Regions from separate parts of the Homo sapiens genome. Here region 2 is linked to region 1. Evidence: promoter capture Hi-C in 16 types of primary human blood cells and fetal thymus (Javierre and others, 2016). All regions are on one chromosome and are shown on one strand. The core of a region is centred on a gene start or on the middle of the fragment in contact, and the rest is flanking DNA. Distances in the headings are between cores, read along the strand shown.

What was found. The method cuts DNA at HindIII sites, captures the fragments that hold promoters and counts their contacts. A CHiCAGO score of 5 or more calls a contact.
Region 2: a contact is called between a fragment that was not itself captured here and the fragment with the promoter of ZNF354A in region 1, in 1 of 17 cell types (endothelial precursors). The highest score is 5.7, in endothelial precursors.

Annotation. Positions count from the first base shown.
Region 1 is chr5:178,726,766-178,733,049 of GRCh38, reverse strand. It overlaps ZNF354A (zinc finger protein 354A), which reads left to right and starts at 2,391. Exons shown (of 5, transcript NM_005649.3): 1 at 2,391-2,494; 2 at 3,977-4,060; 3 at 5,925-6,051. The coding sequence starts at 4,028. RefSeq lists silencers at 2,212-2,551, 2,622-2,851. The HindIII fragment of the contact is 10,949 bases long and covers 1-5,451 here.
Region 2 is chr5:179,473,735-179,480,018 of GRCh38, reverse strand. No RefSeq gene overlaps it. Among named protein-coding and RNA genes, the nearest start is that of RUFY1, 74 kb to the left of the region's middle. The HindIII fragment of the contact is 1,510 bases long and covers 2,596-4,105 here.

The DNA.
Region 1 (6,284 bases), core at 1,142-3,641:
TCTTTGATTTAGGAAATGTGCCAGAGACATAAAATGATATGAGGGAAAATGCAAATAATGAAACTAGCTTTTCCTAATTCAGAAAGGAAAATGTTTGCCTCTCCTTCCAGTCCTTCAGGTTGTCAGATGTGCCTTGTTTCTAGCAGCTATTTATAATATTAATCATTTTAACAGTATCAAACAGACTGGGTTTTTACACTTGATAAATTTTTGATGTTGAACCTTTGAAAAATGCAGTGATGTGATTTTTTTCTTCCTGAAGAGTTTCTCCCCAGAAGCCAGTGTTAATTTGCAGATGCCAACACATGACTAATGGTCTTATCTCAAAAGATTAATCCACACTAAATTAACATAGGACCAAGGCCTCAGGATTGTATAGCCTTTCGTCGTGAGAGATTCCAGGCTTTGTGATTCTGACAGACAGGCTGGCAGTTGTCTCCTCATAAGGGATGGTAGCTGGTTAGTTAATTGGTCAGTCAGTCTGCCTGGTACACCCTGTTACTGCCTGCCTAACAGTCACTGCCCTCCTCTTCTTTGTCAAGAACACCAATTTTGTTCAGTGAGCAATGCGCTCAGCTCCAGATGATGAGATATGATGGAGCTGCTTCAGTTCAGGTGAACTAAATTCCCTGTGATTGGTTCAGAGGTGAGGAAGTGACCTAATTCTGGCCAATGAAATGCAAGAGAAGGATGGAAAGGAGCTGAATGGGTTGGAGGAGGAAAAGGGATGGTGGCTTCTGGAAAAGAAAATAAAAGGTGATCATCATGTGGAAGTTAGTCCTTTTTGTTTCTGTAATTTCCTTCCTGATATTGGATGTGGCTGTGAGAAAACTGGTTCCTGGAGCAGCAGCTATGCTGGGCTCTTGAGTGGAGACCATAGCCAGAACTTTGGGTGGCAGAGCAGACAGACGGAAAGACACTGAGCCCTCGCTGATGTCATCAAGCCACCAAACCAACTGCGGTCAGTTCCTTCTGCCTACCTCTAGATCGCTTTTTAAACAAATAATAAATGTCATGATGCAAGCCACTGTTAGCAAAGGTTTCTGTATGTTGGTGCTGGAAGTATTGCTAATGATACAGCCAATTTTGCAAGCCTGGAAATTGTTTTCTCTCTTAAAAGCATTCATGTCATACATGCATATGGTAAAGCAAAATGTTGAAAAGTATATCAAGGTGTTAAATAGCAAGTGCAAGTATTATTCCAGCTCCCAGTACCCTCCTCAGAGGCAACTACTTTTTTTTTTTTTTTTTGAGATGGAGTCTCGCTCTGTCGCCCAGGCTGGAGTGCAGTGGCGCAATCTTGGCTTACTGTAACTTCCGTCTCCCGGTTCAAGCAATTCTCTGCCTCAGCCTCCTGAGTTGCTGGGACTACAGGCGCCCGCTACCACGCCCAGCTAATTTTTGTATTTTTAGTAGAGACGGGGTTTCACCATCTCGGCCAGGCTGGTCTTGAACTAACGTCGTGATCAACCCGCCTCGGCCTCCCAAAGTGCTGGGATTACAGACATGAGCCACCGCCCCCAGCCAATTAAACGTTTTTTTTAAAAAAATAAATGCAATGGAATGCAATGAAGCTATCAAAAATGCCACTGAGGGAGAATATTTATTGACAAATTCAAATGTTCAAGGCATATTCTTAAGTAGGGAAGCGCCAAACTTTCTAAATGGAGCCGGTGTTCTTTTTGTAACTGAGAAGATTTAGTTTAAAAAAAATATATATATATATACACACACACACACACACATATACATACATACATCCGTTGGCTTCACAGTAGCTGGCACCTCCCTCCCCTTTGCTTCAGGCACTTCCTGGGAGTCCTCGTCCATTCTCACCTCAGCGACGAAACCCCTCCACATACCCTGTTTCTCCTCACATTTATCCCCGAAAATGTTATATAATTATGTGTATGGCTTATTGTCTGCTCCCTACCCCCCAAAAAAATGTTCTCCAGGGCAGTGACGTTTCTTTCATTGATTGATACATGTGAAACCACTTGCAACCGTGCTTGGCACACAGCAGGTGCTCAGTGCCCCTCTGGTGAATAACTGAGGGGCACTAGGTCTGTTCTGGGCCGTTTTCCTGCCGCCCACGCCCTCCCTCCCGAAATTCCCACAGACACAGAGTTGCAAGTTACTGCCCTCAGCGAACCTCCCCTTATCTTCCCTATAACCAGGAACCTGGGGCCCTCCAGCTCACAGGGGCCCTCTTGTGGCATGTGGGCGCGTAACAGCTCAGCCGGGACCCCGCCTCAAACGCATGGAACTACACTTCCCCGAATGCAGGTGTCCTCTCGTGGACTCCATTTCCCAGCGGCCTCAGCGGCTGCCCCGCCCCTCCTGGTCCCCGGCGCGCCGCGGGGTGAGCGGCGCCGGGCCTGAGGTCGCCCAGACGCCGTCGGGGCGGAGCCGGGTCGCGAGGCTGCATCCCGGCCGGCGGTTCCGGAGCCTCGCGGCTGGGGAGGCGCGGCCCGGGACGCTCGAGCTTAGGGAGGTGAGCGTCGGCGGCAGGCCAAGCCGGTAGGAGGCGGCGCCCGGCACGGGGACTGCCTGCGGCTGCCGAGGCTCCGAAAGCCTTTGTGGGCGCTGGCGGGCACCCCCGCGTCTGTCACCGGCCCCCGCGCCGGGATCTGGACTCTCGCCCCCCCGCGGGGCGCTCCCTCGCCGTTGCTGGTGCACCCGCGTCCGGCTCGCCGTGGACGCCGGGCCTGGCGTTTCCTCCCGGGCCCGTCCTGCCCACTCCATGTGGGCCTCGCGGACTCGGGGCACCGGGACCCCGAGGGCAGGGCGGACGCAGCCGGGCCCCGGTTTCCGAGTCCGTCCCCAGGACGGCCACCCCTCCCGCCTCGGGACACCCAGCGCTTTCCTCTTCAGAGCTGGTGTTTGGCCGGGCGCGGTGGCTCACGCCTGTAATCCCAGCACTTTGGGAGGCCGAAGCGGGTGGATCACGAGGTCAGGAGATCGAGACCATCCTGACTAACACGGTGAAACCCCGTCTCTACTAAAAATACAAAAAAAATTAGCCGGGCGTAGTGGCGGGCGCCTGTAGTCCCAGCTACTTGTGAGGCCGAGGCAGGAGAATGGCGTGAACCCAGGAGGCGGAGCTTGCAGTGAGCCGAGATCAAGCCCTGCACTCCAGCCTGAGCGACAGAGCGAGACTCCGTCTCAAAAAAGAAACATCGTGTTAGAAATGGGATACATGGGGTCGGGCGTGGTGGCTCACGCCTGTAATCCTAGATTTTTGGGATGCCAAGGCGGGCAGATCACCTGAGATCAGGAGTTCGAGACCAGCCTGGGCAACACGGTGAAACCTCGTCTCTACTAAAAATACAAAAATGAGCCGGGCGCCTGTAGTCCCAGCTACTCGGGAGGCTGAGGCAGGAGAATGGCTTGAACCCGGGAGGCAGAGCTTGCAGTGAGCCGAGATCCTGCCACTGCGCTACTGCACTCCAGTCTGGCCAACAGAGCGAGACTCCGCCTCAAAAAAAAAAAAGCCGTTTTCCGTGGAGTCGGGAGATGATTCGTTGGCGGGAGAGAGAGGAACCGGCTGGGAAAGGCTTGAGGCGGAGGGAAGTCGTCCCGGGGCCGTCGTGGTGGGAGTCCCGGCCCGCCTCGCAGCGGCGTGAACGGGGCAGGTGCCCCGGCGCTGCCTCAGTTTCCTGAGCGGTGCAGTGGGTGCTGGCAGTGCCAGCTGGCGCCGAGGAACTCAGCGGCGTGGGGCGAGCCCTGGCCCTGGTGGGCTCAGCGGGTCGCTGCTGCCACTGCGGCTCCAGCGTCCCCTCCGTAAGCCCCAAGCCTGTGGGGCCTGGGCCTGGCCGGGCGGCCCAGCGCTGCTCTGGTCCGCGGGCTCCTGGCTCCTCCCGAATCCCTGTGAGGGCGCGCGGGGTCCTTCTCAGCGGGAGTCGGGGTTTTAGAGCTGCGGATTCCAGGGCTGGAAAGCAGAAGGGGTTCTTCCTGGCTCCCTTTTTCTTCTCAGATCTGCCTTCTGGAGACTGCGCCGTCCTCCCGGGAGAGCCAGAAAGAGGACATGGCTGCTGGGCAGCGGGAAGCGAGGCCCCAGGTGAGCTCATTGCCCTCCCAGATCCCAGTGGATGGATTTTCCCCACTAACTGGAGTTCTTCACCCGGGACCATCTCCAGCCAGGATGGAGCCCAAGTCCTTTTCTCTTGGAGGAGCTGGTCCGCCCTCATGAGTGGTGGATTCTGTAGGGAGGACCACCCACCCTCCCCACCCGTGTCTAGTGGTTCTCTTTTTTTTTTTTTTTTTTGAATCTCGCTTTGTCGCCCAGGCAGTGGCGGGATCTCGGCTCGCTGCAACCTCTGCCTCCCAGGTTGAAGCAATTCTCCTGCCTCAGCCTCCCAAGTAGCTGGGATTACAGGCTCCCGCCATCACGCCCGGCTAAGTTTTTTTTTTTGTGCTTTTATTAGAGATGGGGTTTCACCACGTTGGCCAGGCTGGTCTCAAACTCCTGACCTCAGGTGATCCACCCGCCTCAGCCTCCCAAAGTGCTGGGATTACAGATGTGCGCCACTGCACCCAGCCCGAATAAATCATTTTCTGTACACATTTATTTGTGTGTGTGTGTTTGTGTATGCATGTTACCATCTATGTTACCATTTTAACCTTTTTTTATTGTGGCAAAATATATATAACATAAAATATACCATTTTAACTTTTTAAGTGTATAATTCAGTGGTATTTTAGGTACTTCCGCATTGCTGTGCAGCCATCATCGCTATCCATCTTTATTGTGTAGATTATCACATTTATTTCTTAACCCTAAGGGGCAGGCATTAAAAGGCAGTTTTACAGAGTAGTTAAGAATGCAAGCTCAGTGAGACATCTGCTGGATTTGAATTACACAAGAAAAAACAAAGTCACAGAGAGGATACAAAATTTGTAGAAGTCAGCCGGCCACAGTGGCTCACACCTGTAATCCCAGCACTTTGGGAGGTCGAGGCCGGCAGATCGCCTGAGGTTAGGAGTTTGAGACCAGCATGGTGGAACCCTGTCTCTACTAAAAATACAAAAATTAGCCGGGCATGGTGTCTAGCACCTGTAATCCCACCTACTCAGGAGGCCGAGGCAAGAGAATCATTGGAACCCGGAAGGTGGAGGTTACAGTAAGCCAAGATCATGCCATTGCACTCCAGCCTAGGCAACAAGAGCCAAACTCTGTCTCAAAGAAAAAAAAAAATGTGTACAAGTCACACAGCTGGTCAGTGACTGTGTCTGTGTGACCTGGACAAATTTCTTATCTTGTCTGTGACTTTGTTTTCTCTTGTGTAAAGTGGCAACAATAATGGTATCGTCTTGATAGGATTGTTGTGAATGTTAAATAAAGATTATACACTGCAAATTAACATAAAGCTCTAAGATCAATACTTGGCCCATAGAAAGCCTTCAATAAATTATAGCTATTTTACTTTTCGTCATTACTATCCTTAAGCTTGAGTAAGCACATAGAGAGTACCTTCAGTTGCTTAACCTAACCTCCATCATTAAGTATTTAGATTATTCCTGGTTTTTTGCTCTTAAAAACACCATGAATATGTTTGTGTGTACTTTTGTGCACTGTTCATTATCGTACAAATAGAGTAATTGGTACTTTAAAGAGTATACTTTGAGGGTTCTAATATGTATTAGCAAATCGCCATCAGAAAGAGTTTTCTAATTAACACTCCCACTAATGGCCGTAATTCCTCTACCCATCTCTTACAGTGGCTGCACTAGGCCTGAATCTCACTGTGTGCTGCTCAGTATACATTTGTTACTGGCCAATTATTCATTAAACGAATGATCTGGAACCTTCAGAAGCTTGAATAGTATGGGAAGTGTTTCACGGGTAGCGTGTCTTTCCCACTGCCGCCCCCTCTGCTCTGTGAGGGTGGTCCTGGGTGAGCTGGAACGACTTGTCCTTACAGGTGTCACTGACGTTTGAGGATGTGGCTGTGCTGTTTACCCGAGATGAGTGGAGAAAGCTGGCCCCTTCTCAGAGAAACTTGTACCGGGATGTGATGCTGGAGAACTATAGGAACCTGGTCTCACTGGGTAAGGAAATTTTCCCTCTAGAAACAGAATTCAAAAATTGGGATATCTCAGCACCTCCTTCCCTGAATAAAAGCGGTTGGTCACTGAAAAATTTGAGCTGAGTGTGTGAGGATTGTACAAATCAGATCTTTATAAATAAACATTAAAAACCTATTCCCCCTTATAGGCATGAAATTGCCCTGTGTCTGGGAATGGAAGAGGTGGTATTGATAATCATTCCTCTCTCTCTATGT
Region 2 (6,284 bases), core at 2,101-4,600, 750 kb before region 1:
TCTGTCCACCCACTTTGGACTTCCCATCTCCAGAACTGCAAGACAATACATTTGCTGTTTTAAGCCACTTACATTTGTGATAATTTGTTATAGCAGCAAGAGGAAGCTAATGCAAACCCTACCAAAAAAGAGCCAATTTGATATATATTTATACATCCACTTCATGATCCATAGGTGTCTCTGTTCTTTGAATTCTCCTTTAAACTAGTTGTGGTAGCTTACTGATTTTTTCATTCATTCACGAGTTGAGTCAAATATTTTAAATGTGTGTATTTTTATTTATTTGTTTATTTATTTCGGAGACAGTCTCACTCTGTAACTTGGGCTGGAGTGCCGTGGTGTGATCACGGCTCATGGCAGCTTTGAACTCCTGCACTCAGGTGATCCTCCTGCCTCAGCCTCCTGAGGAGCTTGGACCACAGGCACATGCCACTATGCCCGGCTAATTATTTTTTAATTTTTGTAGGGACAGAGTCTCAGCATGAATGAGAAGAGACAGCAGACACGAACACTGAGATGACACAGATGTTAGAATTATCTGATAAGAATTTTAAAGCAGCTGTCATAAAATGGTGCAATGTGCACATTATGAATGCGCTTGAAACCAATGAAAAAGGAGAAAGTCTAGGCAAAGAAATAGATGATATTAAGAAATAAATGAGGCCAGGCACAGTGGCTTATGCCTGTAATCCCACCACTTTGGGAGGCCGAGCTGGGCGGATCACCTGAGGGAGTTTGGGACCATCCTGGCTATCACGGTGAAACCCCGTCTCTACTGAAAATACAAAAAAATTAGCCGGGCATGGTGGGGTGCACCTGTAATCCCAGCTCCTTGGGAGGCTGAGGCAGGAGAATCACTTGAACCCAGGAAGCAGAGGTTGCAGTGAGCCAAGATTGCGCCACTGAACTCCAGCCTGGGCGAAAAAGAGTGAGACTCCATCTCAAAAAAAAAAAAAAAAAAAAAAAAAAGTAAGGATAAAATATAGAATAACAATATAAAAACTCAATGGATGGGTTTAACAGCAGAATGGAGAGGATGGAGGAAAGAAATCCATGAACTTGGAGGTACAATGATATATATTATCCAATCGGAATAGCAGAAAGAAAATAGCCCGGAAAAAACAACAACCCATTAGCAAGTCACTGCTGAAGGGCAGGGCCTTCACCTTCCTGTTCACTAAAGTATGCCAAATGCTCTGTCCAGCACCTGGCATACGGTAGGCACTCATATTTGTTGAATGCTCTAATGCCCTGTGCGTGTGGATTCCCCTTTGTCAATGTTTTTGTTTGTTTGGTTTTGGTTTTGCTTTTTACCAGTTTAAGTGAAGTGTTTTTTCTGAAGGCTCTGAGACAGAATTGGATTCATGCCTCTCTCCTGGCTTCTGGTGGCTGCCGCAATCCTTGACCTTCTTTGGCTTTTGGACGCATCACTGCCACCTGTGTCTCCGTCTCCACATCGCCTTCTCCTCTTTGCCTTTTGTCTCCAATGTCCTTCTTCCTTTTCTTACAGCTGTCATTGGATTCAGGGCCCACTTTGACTCCAGGATGATCTCAACTCGAGACTCTTCATTACAGTTGTAAGGACCCCTTTCCAAATAAGGTCACACTCACAGTTCCAGGGGTTAGGAGCTGGACATACATTTTTGGAGGCCTATTCACCCCCTACAGAGATGGAAAACAGACGAGTGGCTGTCAGAGGTTAGGGATGGTGGGGACATGGCTGTGTAGGTGACTATCATGGGGTGGCTCCCAAGGGTGATTTTTGTGGCAATGGGACAGTTTTGTATTTTGATTGTAATAGTTACATGAAACTACACATATGATAAGATGACACACATTGGGTCGGGCTTGGTGGCTCACGCCTGTAATCCCAGCATTATGGGAGGCTGAGATGGGCAGATCACCTGAGGTCAGGAGTTAGAGATCAGCCTGGCCAACAAGGTGAAACCCTTTCTCTACTAAAAATACAAAAACTAGCCAGGTGTGGTGGCGGGCTACGTATAGTCCCAGCTACTCGGGAGGCTGAGGCATGAGAATGGGTTGAACCTGGGAGGCAGAGGTTGCAGTGAGCTGAGATCGCGCCACTGCACTCCAGCCTGGGCGAGAGAGTGAGACTCTGTCTCAAAAAAGAAAAAAAAAAAAGATGACGCACATTGCACCAATGTCAATTTTCCCGGTTTTGATGTTGTACCATAGTTATGTAAGATATTGTCACTGGGAGAAACTGTGTGAAGTGTAAATGGGGACATCTCGATACTATCCTTGCAACTTCTGTGAATCTATAATTGTTTCCAAATAAAATGTTCAACAAAACCCTACGTGCACATGCACACACAGACACAAACATAAGCAAAGTCAAAAGACAAATGACAAACAGGCAAAAAAATTCTTTTCTTTCCCAGAACAAGACCCAAATTGATTCAGCAGACATTTTAATTAGGAAATCCTATAAATCAGGACCACTTTTAATTTCAGACACTCCGTTATGAAGCGTACATCTACATCTGGAGGATGAACAGGCCATTGAATCTCTTAAAAACTGGCTTTGCTACCTTCGCATTTGGGGGTAGGACCTTCGTAAGACACCATTAAGCTTCAAAGGGCAAAGCCTGTGATTTCTCCTCGGGGAAAGCCACATTTTAAAACCAGCTTCGGTCACAAAGAACAGCTGCATGGGAGAAGGAGACAAACCGCACGGGGAGGATGTGCAGAGCCTGAGGCCCACAGCTTCACAGAGGCCAGCACAGAGCAGAAAAACATCCAGGGTCTCTTGTCCATTCCTACAGACACCAGCAAGGATGGAATAAGAAAGTTGGGCTGGGAGGATGGGAGAGAGGCTCAAGAGATTGTTTAGGTGGGCCCAGTGGCTCACGTCTATAATCCCAGCATTTTGAGAGGCCAAGGCAGGAAGATTGCTTGAGGGCGGGAGTTTGAGATCAGCCTGAGCAACATAATGAGATCCCATCTCTACACAAAAATACAAAAATTAGGCGGGGCGCGGTGGCTCATGCCTGTAATCCTGGCACTTTGGGTAGCCGAGCAGGGGGTGGATCACGAGGTCAGAAGTTCAAGACCAGCCTCGCCAAGATGGTGAAACCCCGTCTCTACTAAAAATACAAAAATTAGCCAGGCGCTGTGGCAGGTGCCTGTAATCCCAGCTACTTGGGAGGCTGAGGAAGGAGAATCGCTTGAACCTGGGTGGCAGAGGTTACAGTGAGCCGAGACCATGCCACTGCACTCCAGCCTGGGCAACAGAGCGAGACTCCGTCTCAAAAAAAAAAAAAAATTAGCCAGCATGGTGGTGGCATGCACCTGTGCTCCCAGCTACTAGGGAGACTAAATCAGGAGGATCACTTGAGCCCAGGAATTTAAGGCTGCAGTGAGCCAAGATTGTGCCACTGCACTCCAGCCTCGGCAACAGTTTTTAAAAAGCCAGTTTTTAAAAGATTCAATGGCTTATTCATCCCCTAGAGGTAGATGTACACTTCATAACGGAGTGTCTGAAATTAAGAGTGGTCCTGATTTATAGGATTTCCTAATCAAAATGTCTGCTGAATCAATTTGGGTTTTATCTTGGAAGAAAAAAGATTTTTTTTTTTTGCCTGTTTGTCATTTGTCTTGTTGTTTGTCATTTGTGAGACCTTGTCTGAAAACAAAAAAAGGAAAAAGATTGTGACTGCTTCTGAGAAAGCTCCTGGTGTGGCTAGAGTGGCCTTGTGGGAAAAGAACAAATTCTGTAAAGAAGAAAGCAAGAAAAAGCAAGTACTTCTCCCCACACATCCCCTCGCCCGTTTGCGTCCTCTGGAGACTCCAGGCAGTAGCGGAGCACAAACAGGGCTCTTCTCGGCGTGAGACAGAAAAGACACCGCGGTGAGTTAGCTTTCCCAGGAACTGCACGGCCTCCCACCTACAGCCAACCCTGATCTTGAACCGCGACTGGCAGGGTTGAGTCCTTTACAAGCGCACACTCAAATTCAACTCTCAAATTCCCCTTCAAAACTGTCCAGGTCCCTCCAGTCCCCTAAATGGAGTTGACATCTCCCACCTTCTCCAGCCATAAACCGGTGGGAGAAAGGGTCGGCCCCAACCCACCCACGGCCAAGCTTTTACATTTTCTCCCCGACCCCGTAACACCACCTTCACTAAGTTCCTCCACCGAAAATCACAACGAAATGTATGCGTGTCCTCAGTTTTTAGTATTGTTATAGCCCTCAAGATTCCCAACCCTCGGAGCCCTGTCTTTAAAGAATCCAACCTCACGATGCCCCCAAGGGCTAAGACAGGCTCACGGTGATGCCAGCGGCTGCCCCCGCTCTCCCCGTCTATCCCCGGTCTTTGGCCCCGACGGCCACCAGTGCGTTCCTTCCCTGCAGCCCACACCACTTCTCCCACCCAGAGGTGGGGTCTATTTCCTATTCCTTAAATCTGGGCTGACCTTGTGACTTTCTATGACCAAAGGAATGCAGAAGTGACATTTCCTGACGTTGGAATCCAGGCCTTAAGAGGACTGGCAGCTTCTGTTTCCTCCCTCTTGAAAGCCAGCTGCTATGTAAGAAGGCTGACTTCCCTGAGACCACCACGCTGTGAGGAGGCCCCAGCCGAGGTGACGTGGCTATGCAGACGAGCACAAAGGCACTCGACAAGTGAGTGAAGGCTTGGTGGACCATCCAGCTCAGCCAAGCTGCCGGCCAAATGTAGCCGAGTGAGTAAGCCCAGCTGGTAGCAAGTAGAGCAAGAGCCACCCAGCTGTGCCCACTCGACCCGCAGAATCCTGAGGAATAATAAATTATGTCGCTTTAAGCCATTAGGTTTTGAGGTAGTTTGTCATGCAGTAATAGATAAAGATAGCTTTTACTTTCCTAAGAAAGAGACCAAGGACTACAAAGAAAAAATGGGCAAAAGAAAGAAATAGTTCATACAGAATGAAATGCAAATGATCCTTAAACATCAAGAGATGCTCAACCCCAGTTGTAATAAGAGAAATGCAAATTAAATTGCCCTTAGACATCATTTTGCGCAATTCAATTTGGCAAAAATCCAAAATTGTAAAATACATCGTTGGTGTGGCTGTGAGGAAACAGGTTTGGTTGTGGAGAATACAAAATTGTACAAACCTTATGGAGAGCAGTTTGGCATTGCTTATAAAAAATACAAATGTATTGGCCGGGCGCGATGGCTCATGCCTGTAATCCCAGCACTTTGGGAGGCCGAGGCGGGTGGATCACGAGGTCAGGAGATCGAGACCATCCTCGCTAACACAGTGAAACCCCGTCTCAACTAAAAATACAAAAAATTAGCCAGGCATGGTGGCGGGCACCTGTATTCCTAGCTACTCAGGAGGGTGAGGCAGGAGAATGGCGTGAACCCGGGAAGCGGAGCTTGCAGTGAGCTGAGATGGTGCCACTGCACTCCAGCCTGGGCGACAGAGCAAGACTCCGTCTCAAAAAAAACAAAAAACAAACAAACAAACAAAAAAATGTATTTATCCTTTGACCCAGCAATCCTACCTCTGAAAATCTATTCTACAGACAGATATTCACGAGTATAAAATGACCCATGAACGAGGTTATACACTACAGCACTGTTTGTAATGGTAAAAGCTTGGAAACAAGCCAAGGGCCTGCCCATGGGGAGCTGGCTGAATAAACATGAAACACAACTGGAAGAAAGAATAAGGAGCTACTTCAGGATATAGTAAGAAAAAAAAGAAGGTGCAAGATACTGTATCAATGATGTTACCTTTCTGTAAGAAAAGAGTGGAAAATAGGAATAAATATATTTGCATTTCCTTGTTGTAGTTGTATAAAGAAATACAGAAAAATAAACAGAAAATGAATAAAAATGGTTATGTGAGTGTGAGAGAGACAATTGTGGGGAAGATGAAGATGGGAGTTAGAATTTTTTTTGTATAGTTTTATACCCCATTTTAATTTTTAATTTTTTAGAGACACAGTCTTGCACTCTTGCCCAGGCTGGAGGTGCAATGGTGTGATCATGGCTCACTGCAGCCTCGAACTTCTGGGCTTAAGCAGTCCTCTTGCCTCAGCCTCTCGAGTAGCTGGGAATACAGGCACACACCACTATGCCCGGCTAAATACAGGCACACGGCACTATGCCTGGCTAAGTTTAATTAAAAATTGTAGAGATGGGGCTTCGCTATGTTGCCTAAGCTGGTCTTGAACTCTTGGCCTCAAGTGATCCTCCTGCCTTGATCTCCCAAAGTGTTGAGGTTATACGTGTGAGCCACCGTGCCCAGCCTATACTTATTTTATGCCTCATCATGT